2 separate regions of the Homo sapiens genome follow, and region 1 is linked to region 2. The links are contacts of gene promoters, found by promoter capture Hi-C in blood cells and fetal thymus (Javierre and others, 2016). All regions are on one chromosome and are shown on one strand. Each heading gives the region's core, a stretch centred on a gene start or on the middle of the fragment in contact. The rest is flanking DNA. Distances are from core to core; before and after follow the strand shown. Region 1 has its middle 14 kb from the start of MAPKAPK2. Region 2 holds the start of PIGR (polymeric immunoglobulin receptor).

Region 1 (6,897 bases), core at 2,497-4,996, 280 kb after region 2:
TTCCTACAGAGTTGGGAAAGAAAGAGCAAGGAAGCAGAAAAAGCAAATGGAGAGAATGGGTGAGGAACAGGACCAAGGAACAGTGAAAATTGGGTTCAAACTTGTTATGTGTTCTGCTCTGGATTAAGAAATAAGAGAAACCTGGGGAGGATAAATCCTCTGACAAGATTTATATTCTGCTTTGTGTCTATCCCTGGTGACTTGCCCAGCGCCTGTCACAGAATATGGCATTTGTATTTTTGCTGGATGGATGAAATGGAGGATAGTGAATGGCACATAGACAAAGACAAATTTAAAAGTTCACGGTAATAGCTCTCTTTTAGTGAGCACCTATTATGTTCCTACAATGCCTGTGATTCCAGGTGTTGACTCAATCAATGCCCCATAACAACCCTGCAAGATAGGTGTTACTAACATCCTTCCAGGGGCCCAGATGAGGAAACTGAGGCCCATTGAATTTAAGCAACTTAAAGTAAGGTCTGGAGTGGGGATTTGAATGCAGAAAGCCGGGACCTAACTAACACCTGTCTTCTCAGCCACCATGTTCTCCTATGCAGGGAGTAAGACTCATAACTGCTGCAATTTGGGGCATAAAGCTCCATACTAGAGTTGTTCTTCCTCAATCAAGTACCTTGTTATGATCCTCATCCTCCATCCCAGCTCCTGGGTGGACTTCGCTGGACCCCCTATTCTAGGCTCAGAAAAAATTATAGCGAGAATAAGACAGTTATGTTTTTCCCAACCCAAAATTCCAATAATCTATTAATCTAGCTCGAGATCTTGGTATGAAAGCCATAAAAAAGGTGTGGGCCCAGGGACCAGAATGTGAGCCCAATGCCCTGCACAGCTGAAATGCTCTTTCTTTCTCTTTCTTTGCTATCCCCCGCAGATGCCTTTTTCTCTTCTGTTTCCTATGCATTTTTTTTTTCAGAATATTGTCCAAATGAGGAGGCGTTTCTGAAACACCAACTTGGTTCATTTACTCTCCACATAGCTGCCTGCTTTTTTCTCCCTAGGAAGTTGAACTAACAAGGTAGTATGAAAATCAGGTCATTTTCACTGTGTCAGTGTTTCCAGAGGCCATGGTGCTGAAAATGGAAATGTCAAAGTGGGATAATTACATCGGCCCTGAAGCCCTGTTTTCTAACTACCATTTATCCATAATCGATTCCTGAAAAAGACAAAGGACATGAATAATCAACCAAGCAGATGGAGCCTCAAGCAGTGAGGCAGAAGAGAAAACATGGCCCCCTGAAGGGAGAGGGAAGAAAGGCCTTGGGGGCCCAGGGAATATGTCTGCCCTGGAGACAGACCCGGTGATCAAGAAAGGCACACAGCTCAGACCTGGCCTGGGCAGATAAGGCATGTGTAGTGGGAAGTAATTAATCATTGGACTTCTCCTTTAACATCTTCTGACAGCCGTGAGAAGCTCTCTCTAGGAAATGGGGAAGGAAGTAGTAAGGAAGAACTCTGAGGATATCACATGAAGAGGGAAGCTTGGGCATAAAAATAAGGTTGAAAGATCACAAGTTCTAGAAGCTGCTTATTTAAAGACACTCCTTGTAACACACACACACGCACGCACACACACACACACACACACACACACCACCAGAAGTTGTTAAAGCTTGTGGCAGGGCTACAGTTTTCTTTGGCCAGTTTCTCCTTTGCCTTTAGGTCCAGCTGAGGAGACAGGGTCAGCCACATATCACTGGGCATTTTAGTCAGTTTCACTTCCTGTTTCTCATGCTGAAAACATAATCATCATCATAATGATAATAATAATTCTGCAGCCTTGCCTCTGGCTTCTATTTATATAGGGCCTCCCAGAAGTGTGTGCATCAGTGGGAGGGGGAGTAGAGCACATCTACTCCATCAATCAACAGCTGAGGGTGGAGGCAGGCTTGGAGGAAAGGGTGGGGACATAGAAATTAGCAATGGAAATTATTAAACTCATTTTTTCAGGAGGGGGAATCTAAGTGTCTTGGTAACTCCCCAAATGGCTATTCTTACCTTAGAGACATTTGTAAAACCCTTCTCCCAAGGTCCTCTAAAAATAAATCATTCCCAAACACTTTTCAGCCTTCAGTCTGTCCCCAGTCAAGTTAATCTCTGTGATCTGAGGCCCAAAAACATTTAAACTAACTTCCCAAGAGTTACACAGCAGGTCAGGAGAGAAGACAGGTCCAGACTAGGCTTCTTCTGCATCTATCAAGAGCTGTAACGAGGAAGGGAATTTCCAACTTTATGGGGAACTTGCAAAGTTGTCAGGAAAAAGTACAACTGCTTCTGCTAAGGAAAAAAAAATGCGTAGTTCTTGCAGACTTAAAATCCTAGGACAATGAGAGAGAGTTCCCTCTTACTAAGAATGTGCTGGGAATGTCTAAGATTAGAATAGGGGTAGGAGGGGCAGCTTTCAGACTTTGGTCAAGACAACAGCTTCGTGGAGTAGAGGTGTTGAGCCAGTATTTTAATTTTTTATCGCCAGTAAAGGGTTATACTCGAAGGACAAAGGTTGAACACTCCACAGGCTCAAGAGAATGAGATAGGAGTGGAGGGAAGCGGGGGAGGGAGCCATTATCTTGAGGACAATGGTGACACAGTCATCCTTTAGATCCTGGCTTCCCCTGGGGACCTGAGGAGAAGCGGTGGCAGGGAGGAAGCAGGTGGTTCCAGGGTCCTCGCTATATGAACCAAAAAGGCAGGTAAAGAAAAACAAAATGAAACCACCAGAGAGAGCCTCTAATTAATTGAATTAAAATTAAATGAAAAAAAAAAAACCTCCCTCTCAGACACAAACAAAGACACACAGAGCACACAGACACACCCTGAAGCACCAGCTAGCTACACTAAGGATCAAGAGAGGATGTGATCTCACCTATGTATTTATTGTGATAATTATTGTTGTTGGAGTTTTTTCCCCCAAAGGACAATCATAAGCCTGGGGCTGGATGGTGAGCGACAGGTTAGAAATGGGAAAATGAGAAAAGCCCACTGTGACCCTTTGAATAATCAACCTCAGGCTGTCAGGTGTTGAACCAGTACAAGGAGGGAACAGTAATGATATCAAACACTTCCACAGCATTCCCTATGTGCCAGACACTGTTCTAAGCACTTTCCACATATTTTCTCATTCAACACTTGCAGCAACCCTGTGAAATAGACTACTACTATTAGGACATTATCATTCATATGCATTTCCACCCTGGCTGTCTTGGCATCTCCGAGCCTGTAAAAGACGAGTTTCTTTAGTTCCCTACCTCTGTTCAGGGCCAGTTAGCTCCTTTGCCGGACCCAGTGCAAAATAAACATGCATAGCACCTTGTTCAGAAATTATTAAGAATTCCAGGCTGGGCGCGGTGGCTCATGCTTGTAATCCCAGCACTTTGGGAGGCCGAGGAGGGCGGATCACGAGGTCAGGAGATAAAGACCATCCTGGCTAACACGGTGAAACCCCGTCTCTACTAAAAATACAAAAAAAAAAAAAATTAGCCGGGCATGGTGGCGGGCGCCTATAGTCCCAGCTACTTGGGAGGCTGAGGCAGGAGAACGGCCGTGAACCCGGGAGGCGGAGCTTGTTGTGAGCGGAGATCGCGCCGCTGCACTTCAGCGTGGGTGACAGAGCAAGACTCCGTCTTGAAAAAAAGAAAAGAATTCCAAGTGAGTATTAAACCCACACAGCGTCCTTATAAATGCAGGTCCCTGTGCAATGCATGGCTTGCATGCCCATGAAGCTGGCCCTGCATAGAACCTCCCCGAATCATTGCACAGAACAATTGTGCTGTCTTCTGTTATCCTACCCTGGTGCATGCCCAACTCCTAAACAAGGAAAGGGGAGGGAAAAAAACACATTCTACCCCAAATATATTGGCTGTATGTAGATGGCTTTGTTGAAGAAGATATTCCTCAGCTAAATGAAAGTTTGAGAACCATGATCTAGATGTTTTTCTTGTCTTCCTATCCTCCCCCCATACCTAGAAGACAATACAGACGATTTGTTAAAATCTCTCCCACTGTTGTTTCAGGAGGTTTGTCCTTTTATTCACCCCTCTCCTCACATCCCACATCTAATCAGCTGGCAATTCTTGCTGACTCTATCTCAGCAAGGCCTCCTGTATCCTGCCCTCTTTTCCATCTCCCCTGCAACTGCCCTAGATTTCTCTCACCTAGAATATTCCACTAGCTCACTAACTAGATTCCTTGCCTTCAACCCCGTGCTTTTCCAATCCATCCTTTATGATGCTTGTTATACTTGGCCTTTTATTCGTCACTTTTGAGGACTTTTTTTTCTCCCAAGTTGTCAATTTCTCAAGGGCAGATACTCCATTCCCAGTCACCTGTGCCCTCCTCAGTAGCCCCGAGAGGAGCAGTCTGTGCTTGCTGAGTATGCGTGCAATGACTCCCTTGCAAATATCTCGCCTTTTCCATTAGGCTCACATTCTAGACAAAAGCTCAGCCTTTTGAACTCTCAGTCTAGAGAGTTCCTTTGTCTTAAATTCTAGAGAAAAGCATGATATCCAAAGTCTTATCTCATATTACAATAAAAATGTAGCCAATTGCAATAATTAGGAGGGTTTACTTCCCAATGTATCAATAAGGCATGGAAATAATTATGAGAAGCTGTGGAGAGGACAAATGGGTGTCTCTTGCTTGGAAGGCTTAGTTTGACTTGGCTTCAACCAAAAAAGGCAGAAAGGCCTGACTTCCATAATCTTCATTACCCATAGCAAAGTAATTGGTCTGTTTAAACAATCAGGATTGTTTTAAAGAATGATGGCCTTGAGTGCTACTTTAGGGAAGAAACCACAGTCAAAGATGGTTTACCTCAACATTTCAAAAGGTCTTACTGGTACCCTAATCTCATTTAAAAACCAGCCTAAATTACCTTGGATCCAGAATATGAGAACCATCCTATATCAGTTAGGACGCATGCAGCTGAAAAGACAACTGGCAATGGCTTAAATCATAAAGATGCTAATAGTTTCTTAACAAGGCTAAAGGGAGGTGATCTCGGGTTGTTCAGCAGCTCAACAAAGTCCTCAAGCTCCATCAAGGATCCGGGTCTGACCGTCCTCTGCTTTGCCATGCTCAGCAGACAGGACCTCTCCACCATCCAGCTCAGCATATTATTTCATTGTTGCAAGATGGCTGCAACAGCTCTAAGTCTCACATCTTCCCATGGCGTGATTCAACAGAGCAAGAAAAGAGGCAAGGGTGAAATAAAAAATAAAAGTAAAATTTAAAAAAAATTGAAGTCTTGGCTGGGCTCAGCGGCTCACTCCTATAATCTCAGCCCCTTGGGAGGCTGAGGCATGAGGAACGCTTGAGGCCAGGAGTCCAAGACCAACCTGGACAACATACAGAGACCTCGTCTCTATAAAATATAAAAATCAATTAGCTGGGAGTGGTAGTGTGTGCCTCGTCCCAGCTGCTCCGGGGGTGCTGAGGTGGGAGGATTGCTTGAGCCCAGGAGATCAAGGCTACACTGAGCTGAGATCGTACCATTGCACTCCAGCCTGGCCAACAGAGTGAGACCCTGTCTTAAATAAATAAATAAATAAATAAATAAATAAATAAATAAATAAAATTTCCTCCAAAATTATGGTATTTATCAAGGGAAAAATATTTCCCAGAGAACTTCAGTTGGCTTCCCATAATGTCCCATTGGCCAGAAGTGGGTCACATGCCCACTCCTAAACCAATGGCTGCACAAAAGAACCAGAATGTTCCCCAGGTCGGGGAGGAACCAACCTTCCCCTGGCACTTTGCTACCCACCTGCTGAACCAGGTATGGGTTCTGTCACAAGGAAGGAAAAGGGGGATGGGTTTTTGGTTCTGGTATTGTTTTTTAGAGAAAGAAGCTTCAACTGGGTTGTCCACGCTGGACTCAAACTCCTGGGCTCAAGGGATCCTTCGGCCTGAACCTCCCAAAGTGCTGAGATTACAGACACATCATGGGGCCCAACAAGCGAGGGGGATGGTTTTGAGTAGGGAACAGCATTTGCTCCATTTCCACTCAAGTGACACTTTCCCCTGTCTGTAACATCTTTAAGTATTTCTTGCCTGCTGTCCTGCCTCTTCCTGACACCTGCCTGGTTTCCTCTTGTTCCTTTCCTAGCAAACTCAACTGCAGGAGCAATTTAACTATACTTCCTGTCTCCACTTCTTCAACTCCTGAGCACTCAACTCTTCTGAAATTCGGCTTTTGCCTCGGCCACTCACTCCTCCTATCTCCTTATCTTAGCTCACCATCTCAGTTTAGATCTCTCTGCTGAATTTCACACTTTGCCCCAACCCTTCCTTCTTCCTTCAAAACTCTGTCCTGGGCCTCTTTGCAGCACAGGATCCCTTGATTATCAGGACCTCACACTCTGAATTCTACTTCTCCATCCTTGCCCACTTCTCCTCAGTTTCCTTCAATTGCTCTTCTCCCCAACCTCCCTCTAAAGTGTTGAGGTTTTCCAGGGCTCCTCCCTTGACTGTCTTTAGTAATCATTTTATACAATTTCCCAGGCTTCAACTACCAGCTAATCTACACCCGTGACCCCCAAATTTACAAATTCAACCCAAATACTTTTCTTAAACTCATACCCATAGTGGACTTTCACTACTATTTTCAGACAGCTTAAGTTCAATATCTACAGAACTGACTCTATCTACACTGTACACACACACATACACCCTCCTTCATCCTGCCACTCAGAGAAGGTACCACTCTCCATCTGGTTGCCAAAGGCTGATGCTGGTAGTCAACCTTGACTCCTCACTGTCTCTCACCCCCAATAATCAATTACAATTCCAGCTAATGTCACCTCCCCACTGTTCCCTTCTCTCCATTCTCATGCCACTGCCCTGCTTCAGGCAATCACCAGCTTCCATCTGGATTATGGCACCAGC
Region 2 (7,206 bases), core at 3,445-5,944:
TCTGTGTGATGACCTCCTGTGCAAACTGGAGCAAGTCATTTCACTTTTCTGTTCTTGGTCCTTCATCATTCAGTGGAGAATCACTCTAGTTACGCCATCATGTTCTGGTACATGCTCCTAGTAGTCTCCAAAACTGTCTTAGCAGACAGTGCCAGACACGTATGCATGTACACACACACACTTGCCTTTTGCTGTCCCGTTTATTTGCTGCTGAATCATAAGCGCCTATTAGATGCTAGTCACTGAACATATTATAGCTAATCTTTTTTTAGATTTTTATTTTGGGGAGATAGGGTCTTGTTCTGTCACCCAGGCCAGAGTGCAATGGTGCAATCATAGCTCATTTCAGACTGCAACTCCTGGATTCAAGCAATCCTCCCACCTCAGCCTCCCAAGTAGCTGGGACTACAGGGGTGTGCCACCACCCTGGCTAATTTTTTTGTTTTTGTAGAGACTGGGTCTTGCTATGTGGCCCAGGCTAGTCTCCAACTCCTGACCCCAAGTGATCCTCCCACCTTGGCCTCCCAAAGTGCTGGGACTAGAGGTGTGAACCACTGAACCTGGCCTATACTTAATCTTTATAACATACCTATACAGTAAGTATAATTTTCCCCAGAGACATTAAATAATTTGTTCAAGGTTCCCTGGCTGGCAGGTGGTAAGGCTTGGATGTGAACCCAGGGCGTCGAGGTCCAGAGCCCCTGCTCTTTTCCCAAGGCTACACAGGCTCTCTATGCTTGCTACCTCCTGGCTTGTGTTGTTCCTTGACAGTATTGCATGTGAGTGATGACTTCTCAATTGGACTACTTGCCCTTGTGGAACAGGGGTGCACTCTCCTGCATGTCTCAAATCTCCCTGGACCTTGAGCTTGTCATGGTTGGTAGGCCGAGAAATAACCACCATCCCTCTTCCCCAAGGTTTGTCTATGTCTCAATCTCTGGAGCCCAGAAGTGTGACCTTATTTGGAAAAGAGTCTTTGTAGATGTGATGAAGTTCAGGATCTTGAGATGAGGACATCATCTTGGATTAGCTGGGTGGGCCCTAAATACCATCCATATAACAGAGAAACAGAGAGTTATTTGAGACATACACAGAAGCCAATGTGACTATGAAGGCAGAGGTTGGAGTGACACAGCTACGTGCCAAAGAACACCAAAGAATGTCAGCAGCAACCAGAAGCTAGAAGAGGCAAGCAACGGATTATCGTCTAGAGCCTGGAGGGTGGCCCTGCTGGCACCTTGATTTCAGGCTTCTGGTCTCCAGAACAGAAAGAGCATACATTTCTGTTTTCTTAAGCCACTAAAGTTGTGTTAATTTGTTATAGCAGCTGTCAGAAACTAATACGGTGCTCAACCAAAACACAGAATCCTAGAACTGAAAGAGCCTTGGGAACAATTTGGCACTGTCCTCTGATGGAACAAACAATCCTGCAGACCTACAGGATGAAGTGATCTGGCAAAGGTCACTCGGCAATTAGAGGCAGAATCAGGAACAAAACAAAGGTGTTCCACAGTGACTTATGCTGAGTCCCAGAGTCAGGAAAGTCCAGTGAGAAGCTGTTCTTCTGCTGGTATATTTTCTTGTATGATTACTTTAAAAGAAGCAGGGAGGGTTGAGCAGATGAAGTGTTGTAAGTTTGGAAAGTATAATCACTGCTGTTATCATCATTATTATTGATTTGGGCAATGGACTCTCTTGGCCTGTCCCTCCTCCCCCAGGGCTGAGAAATAGTACTATTTTAGGGCCACTGGGTTCCAGATGGGGAAACCACAGTGCGAGAGGGGAAGCAAGTGAGTCCAATCACACCACCGGCGTGTGGCTGAGCCCAGAATAGGACGTAGGATTTTTGACTCCCTGCCTCTTCCCAGGGCTCTACTTCTCATTTTCCCCTTTCTGTAAACTGGATCAGTAGGATCAGTGGGCTCCAGGTATGTGGGGTGTGTGTGTGTGTATGTGTATGTGTGTGTGTCTGACATGGGTCAGCTAAGACAGTTTTGGAGACTATTGAAAACATGCAGCAGGACATGATCTAGTAAATTACCCACCATCATGAAATAGCAAAGCAGGGAAGGAAATCTGCAACCTGTCCTCCACGCCCACCAAGGCAGCATGAGAAGAAATGATTTAATGAGTGTTCTCCCCTTCCTCCCTGCAAGCCTTTGCTCGTCAAATTTCTGCACTAGTGTTCTGTGAACCTGCCTTGACTTCTACTCCAGCCTGGACAACTGGACACAACTTATTTCTTGCTTTGGGAAGGAAGAAACAAACCCTACAAATATTTTGACTATTGAGTTCAAATGGAGAGAGGTATAAATCGGGAATCCTTTGAAAGGAGCTATAATCTGACAGAACCAGGCTTGTCTCATCTCTGCACCTGCATATCTTGTCTCCCCTCGCATCCTCCTGCTAGACATTAACCCCAGAACTGGGGAGGAGAAAGACTGCTGAAGAGTAAAAAGGAGAGCTTAGTTACTGATGTGTCTTGGTGCCCTCCCACCCACCACCATGGGGCAGAGTCCAGGCTACAGTAGGGGAGAGGGGATTAACAATGATAGAGATATCCAGGTGGGCTTGAAAACTCCAGATTGAGGGGCCCTCACCTTCGCCCATCCTGTAGAGAACTTTGGTGGTCCACAGTCTTGCTGATATCCATTGTACCCCCAATTATATGGGAACACTGGCACACAGGAGGTTACAAGAGTGTTGGGGGAAAATGTGACTCTGCTGCACAGGATCTCCCAAAGGCCTCAGGAGTCTGTGATCAGCCAAACTCACCCTGCACCCACAAGGTGGGCAAGGAGAGGCTGAGGGCCTGGAAGACCCACCCCAGGGAGCTCAGTGTATGGACTAGGAGGGCACAGTGTGGACCACAGAACCCTCAGGATGAGCAGGGACAAAGCCCACTGACCAAGCAGGGGAAGTCACATCTCAGTAGACAAAACTATTTCCTTCTGGAGCCCAAGGCCAGCACAGCATCGTGACAAAGCAAGACCAAAATAATAATGGGCCACCCCTTTTCACTGCCTCAGCAGTAACATTGACCACCCCCTCACCCAAGACCGCTCTCTCCAGACTGGACCCCAGGGGAGAGAAGGGAGACAAAAAGGAAGGGAACTCCATAATGAGGCTAAATTTTAAATCTGGAGTGAAGTGACTGAGAGATCACTGAATTGGGCTGAGCTTGCCTAGAAGTGACTAGGTAACTTGTTTTCTTTTATCAGTCAGATTATGGGTTTAGGGTTTGAAATTAAGCTACATCTGGAAGCCATCATCCTCATCAAACTAACACAGGAACAGAAAACCAAACACCACATGTTCTCACTCATAAATGGGAGCTGAACAATGAGAACACACGGACACAGGGAGGGGAACATTACACATCCGGGCCTGTTGGGGGGGGTGGGGGGAGGGAGAGCATTAGAACTAATAGCTAATGCATGTGGGGCTTAATACCTAGGTGGTGGGTTGACGGGTGCAGGAAACCATCATGGCACACGTTTACCTGTGTCACAAACCTGCACGTTCTGCACATGTAATCCTGGAACCTAAAACAAAATAAAAAAAGAAAATCTAAGTTTGCAAACCACAAAAAAAGAGAGAAATTAAGCTACATAAAGAAATTATGGGGTTTTTTTGCTTGCCATTGAAATCTGTGATTGTGTGTTAACACCCACAAGTGAGCCAGTGGTTAGCTAAAATAAGACCCAGGGCTCTGGCTGCCTTGTGTTTCTCCAGGGCTCTATTTCTCTATTTTTCCTTCCCCTTCTGGTGTTTGGCCTATAGGACTCTGTAGGGAGAGCCTGGGTCAGCCCTGCACAGGTAGGATGGGCAGCATTTCTGTGGGGGTTTGCAGTGAGGGGTCGGGGGGCCATACACGTGTGTGTTGGGGAGTGGGCTTCACTTTTGTCACAGGACTGCCACGATCATTTGGGGAACACCTGGGAGTCCCAACCAGGTCATGTTTTGGCATGGACTAACAGATAGGGAAGGAGGTGCTACTTCAGCTCAGCAGGTCAGCACCGTCCTTGCTATGGAGCCGAGCCCGGGTCCTAACAAGACTCTGAGGTCAGCCATGTTCAGGGGAGCCCAGAAGCAGCGAGTCTTTCATGACTCTGGGGAGTGAAACAGGAAGGGCCACAGTCCTGCCAGTTCCTGGAGCTCTGGGACTGGTAAAAGGGGCTTGGCAGGAGGTGTATAAGGGGCATTTTTGTCCAGGCTAAGTAACCTAGGGAGTCGGAGGGGATTCCAGAGCAACTGGGGATATGAGACCAAGGACTACGACAGCCACTCCTGCCACCTGTGCCCCATCAGATGATGTCAACTTCAAATCAAGCATTGGGCCAGGTATTTTAGAGCTAATACCGGGCTATATCCTCTACCTGTAGATTTGGTATTACCATCCCTCTTTTCCAGATGAAAAGAAATAGGAAGGTGACTTGCCAAAGGTCTTGCAGCTAGAAAGCGACAGAACAGCATCTTCACGCTTGACATTCTGTCCCTCATCCTGAAGCTGCAACGATGGAGGATTCCCAAGTAACAGAGTCTCCCCAAGGTCAAAGGAAACCAAATGGAGCCAGCCAGGAAGGCCAAAATGAAAGGAAAGCAAGGGATCTGTGAGAGTCACATGACCCTGGCTGGCCACGGTGCCTGTGGGAGAGTGGCCCTTTAAGAGCCCAGGTGTGGGTCAAACACTGAGCAGAGTTTCAGTTTTGGCAGCAGCGTCCAGTGCCCTGCCAGTAGCTCCTAGAGAGGCAGGGGTTACCAACTGGCCAGCAGGCTGTGTCCCTGAAGTCAGATCAACGGGAGAGAAGGAAGTGGCTAAAAGTAAGTGTTACTGCTCTGGGATCCCCAGACGGGATGCTATCTGGAAAGGGCTCGGGACGATGGCTCAGGTAACCCCCTCCATTCCCAACTCCCAGTCTCCTAGATAGTGGGGTGACAAGGACAAGGAGGCAGACTGTGTGACTGTGTGTGGCTGGGGAGTAAGCGTGCATATCGCAGTGGGACGAGTAGGGATGCACGTGTGTGGAAGCCCCCCATCCTTTTCTGAGAAATATCAGCAGGTGGGAAGGGACCTCTGTGGTCAGCATATGTAATTCTACTCTTTCAGCTTGGTCTGTGCCTGGATTTCCTAACTCCTCATAGTTGATTAACTGTGTGGCCTTAGACAAGCCACCTAACCTCTCTGATCCTCAGTTTCTTAATCTGTAAAACAAAGATAGAAATAACACCTATCATTCAGGGTCAATGTGGGTTCAAATGAGAAAACACAGGTGAAATAGCTTTGTAACCTCTAGAATGAAATAGGAATTGTTTCATATTTTTCAGTTTAGTTTAATTAATCAAGGATTTATTGAACACCAACAGACCTGGAATTAGATAGTGCGCATAAAGTATGGCACCTAGCAAGTCCTCTTCCATTCTTTGAGGTTTCCCACTTGTGGCTTTCTGGCAAAGGCATGTTCAGCTCCTTTTTTCTGGGCTTCCAAGAACCTCTGAAATCCTTTGCAATTCCACCTCGCTTTGCTCTAGCAGATTCCTGCCATGGGAGACATAAATGTGTGTCATCGCATCATCCTGCCCTTCCTAGAGGTAGAAAAAAAGAGGTCCTCACGGGATCACTGAGTGAGGTGGAGCTGAGCCCCACAGGCAGCATGATCAACTCCTGCTGTTCCTCCTGGCTCTGCAGCCAGCAGATCTCAGACATGGGCTTCCCCTCCCTTTGCCCATCCTGACAGCAGCCCAAGCCAGCAGTGGGACCGTCCGGCACAAGGGCAGCAGCGGGTCAAGCTCCATCCCTGACCCCCAGTTCCCTTTGTGCAATTGCCACAGTGCCTGGGGCCATTGAAGCTGCTCCTATTTTGTGCCATCACTTTCCCCCTTCACTAGGGGAATTATAGATCCTTTAACATCTGGAGAGGAGATGCCAATTTCAGGGGTTTAGGTAGAAGGCAGCTGTCTGGTGCCTGGACATAGGTCTTCCCAGAGCCAGATCTGGAATTCTCTCTCCATCCTTGTCCCGCCCCTGGATGTGCTAAAGTAGCAGAAAGAACACTGAGCCAGGAGTCAGGAAAGCAACTCTCTCTGCTTATCTCCTAGTGCCGCTAGACCTCTGTGGCTTTAGGTGATAAAAAATGGGGTCACACAGGCTTCCATTTAGTAAACCCACTTGCCCTGGGCTTTCACACCTTCGTCTCATTCTCCCTTGATACCAACGAGGAGGTAGGCAGGGTTGGTTTTGTGATGTCATTCCCTAGTTGAGGAAACCAAGACACCGTGAGTCTATGTGAGTGGTGTGAAGTCACCAGCAAGTTTGAACGATGAGGTTTTGGTACAGCCATTTTGATATGGTCATGAGGACATTTTGATGTCACCTAAAAAGCAAACTATCCAACTTAAAAAAAAATACCTATGCATTGTGCTCAGCAGAGACCTTCATCTATGTCTTGCCCTCTCTCTGGAGGGGCTGGGGCTGGAGTCCCAATGTCACTGGCATCGACACAGTATGGTGGAGTGGAAAGAGGCTTTGGCGTCAACATGCCTGGTTATACCCATGGTTATGTAACATATCCTACACATGGTAGGTGCTAAATAAATAGCAGCTAATATTTTCCAGGAAGAAATTTCTCTGTTGGCACCTACCTCTGGGTCCAGGTGTCTCTTCATTTTTTAATTTTTTATTTTTTTGAGATGGAATCTTGCCCTGTCACCCAGGCTGGAATGCAGTGGCGTGATCTTGGCTTACTGCAACCTCCACCTCCTGGGTTCCAGCGATTCTCCTACCTCAGCCTCCTGAGTAGCTGGGATTACAGACCCATGCCACCACACCCAGCTAACTTTTGCACTTTTAGTACAGATGGGGTTTTACCATGTTGGCCAGGCTGGTCTTGAACTCCTGACCTCATGATCCACCCACCTCAGCCTCCCAAGGTGCTGGGATTACAGGCGTGAGCCACTACGCCCGGCCCCAGGTGTCTCCTTATAAGAACTGCCTTTTCCGTGAAAGGCAGAGAGGAAAGAACTGAACAAATTCTCAGTTCGCTAAGATTGAATATCCTGCTTCTTCCTCTCTCCACTGCTTCCTCTCAATAGGAAGACCCTCTGAGGTAAAGCAGAGTGGCTAAGGGCCTATGCTCTTGATCTAGAATCCCATCTAAGTCACTTACCAACTGTGCAACCTTGGGCAAATGTCTCACCTCTCTGTGC

Evidence for each region. The method cuts DNA at HindIII sites, captures the fragments that hold promoters and counts their contacts. A CHiCAGO score of 5 or more calls a contact.
Region 1: a fragment that was not itself captured here is called in contact with the fragment with the promoter of PIGR in region 2 in 8 of 17 cell types (activated CD4 T cells, naive CD8 T cells, non-activated CD4 T cells and 5 more); the score reaches 8.2 in activated CD4 T cells.

What each region holds. Positions count from the first base shown.
Region 1 is chr1:206,667,879-206,674,775 of GRCh38, reverse strand. No RefSeq gene overlaps it. Among named protein-coding and RNA genes, the nearest start is that of MAPKAPK2, 14 kb to the left of the region's middle. The HindIII fragment of the contact is 4,234 bases long and covers 1,630-5,863 here.
Region 2 is chr1:206,943,954-206,951,159 of GRCh38, reverse strand. PIGR (polymeric immunoglobulin receptor) reads left to right here and starts at 4,694. Exons shown (of 11, transcript NM_002644.4): 1 at 4,694-4,824. The HindIII fragment of the contact is 20,587 bases long and covers 1-7,206 here.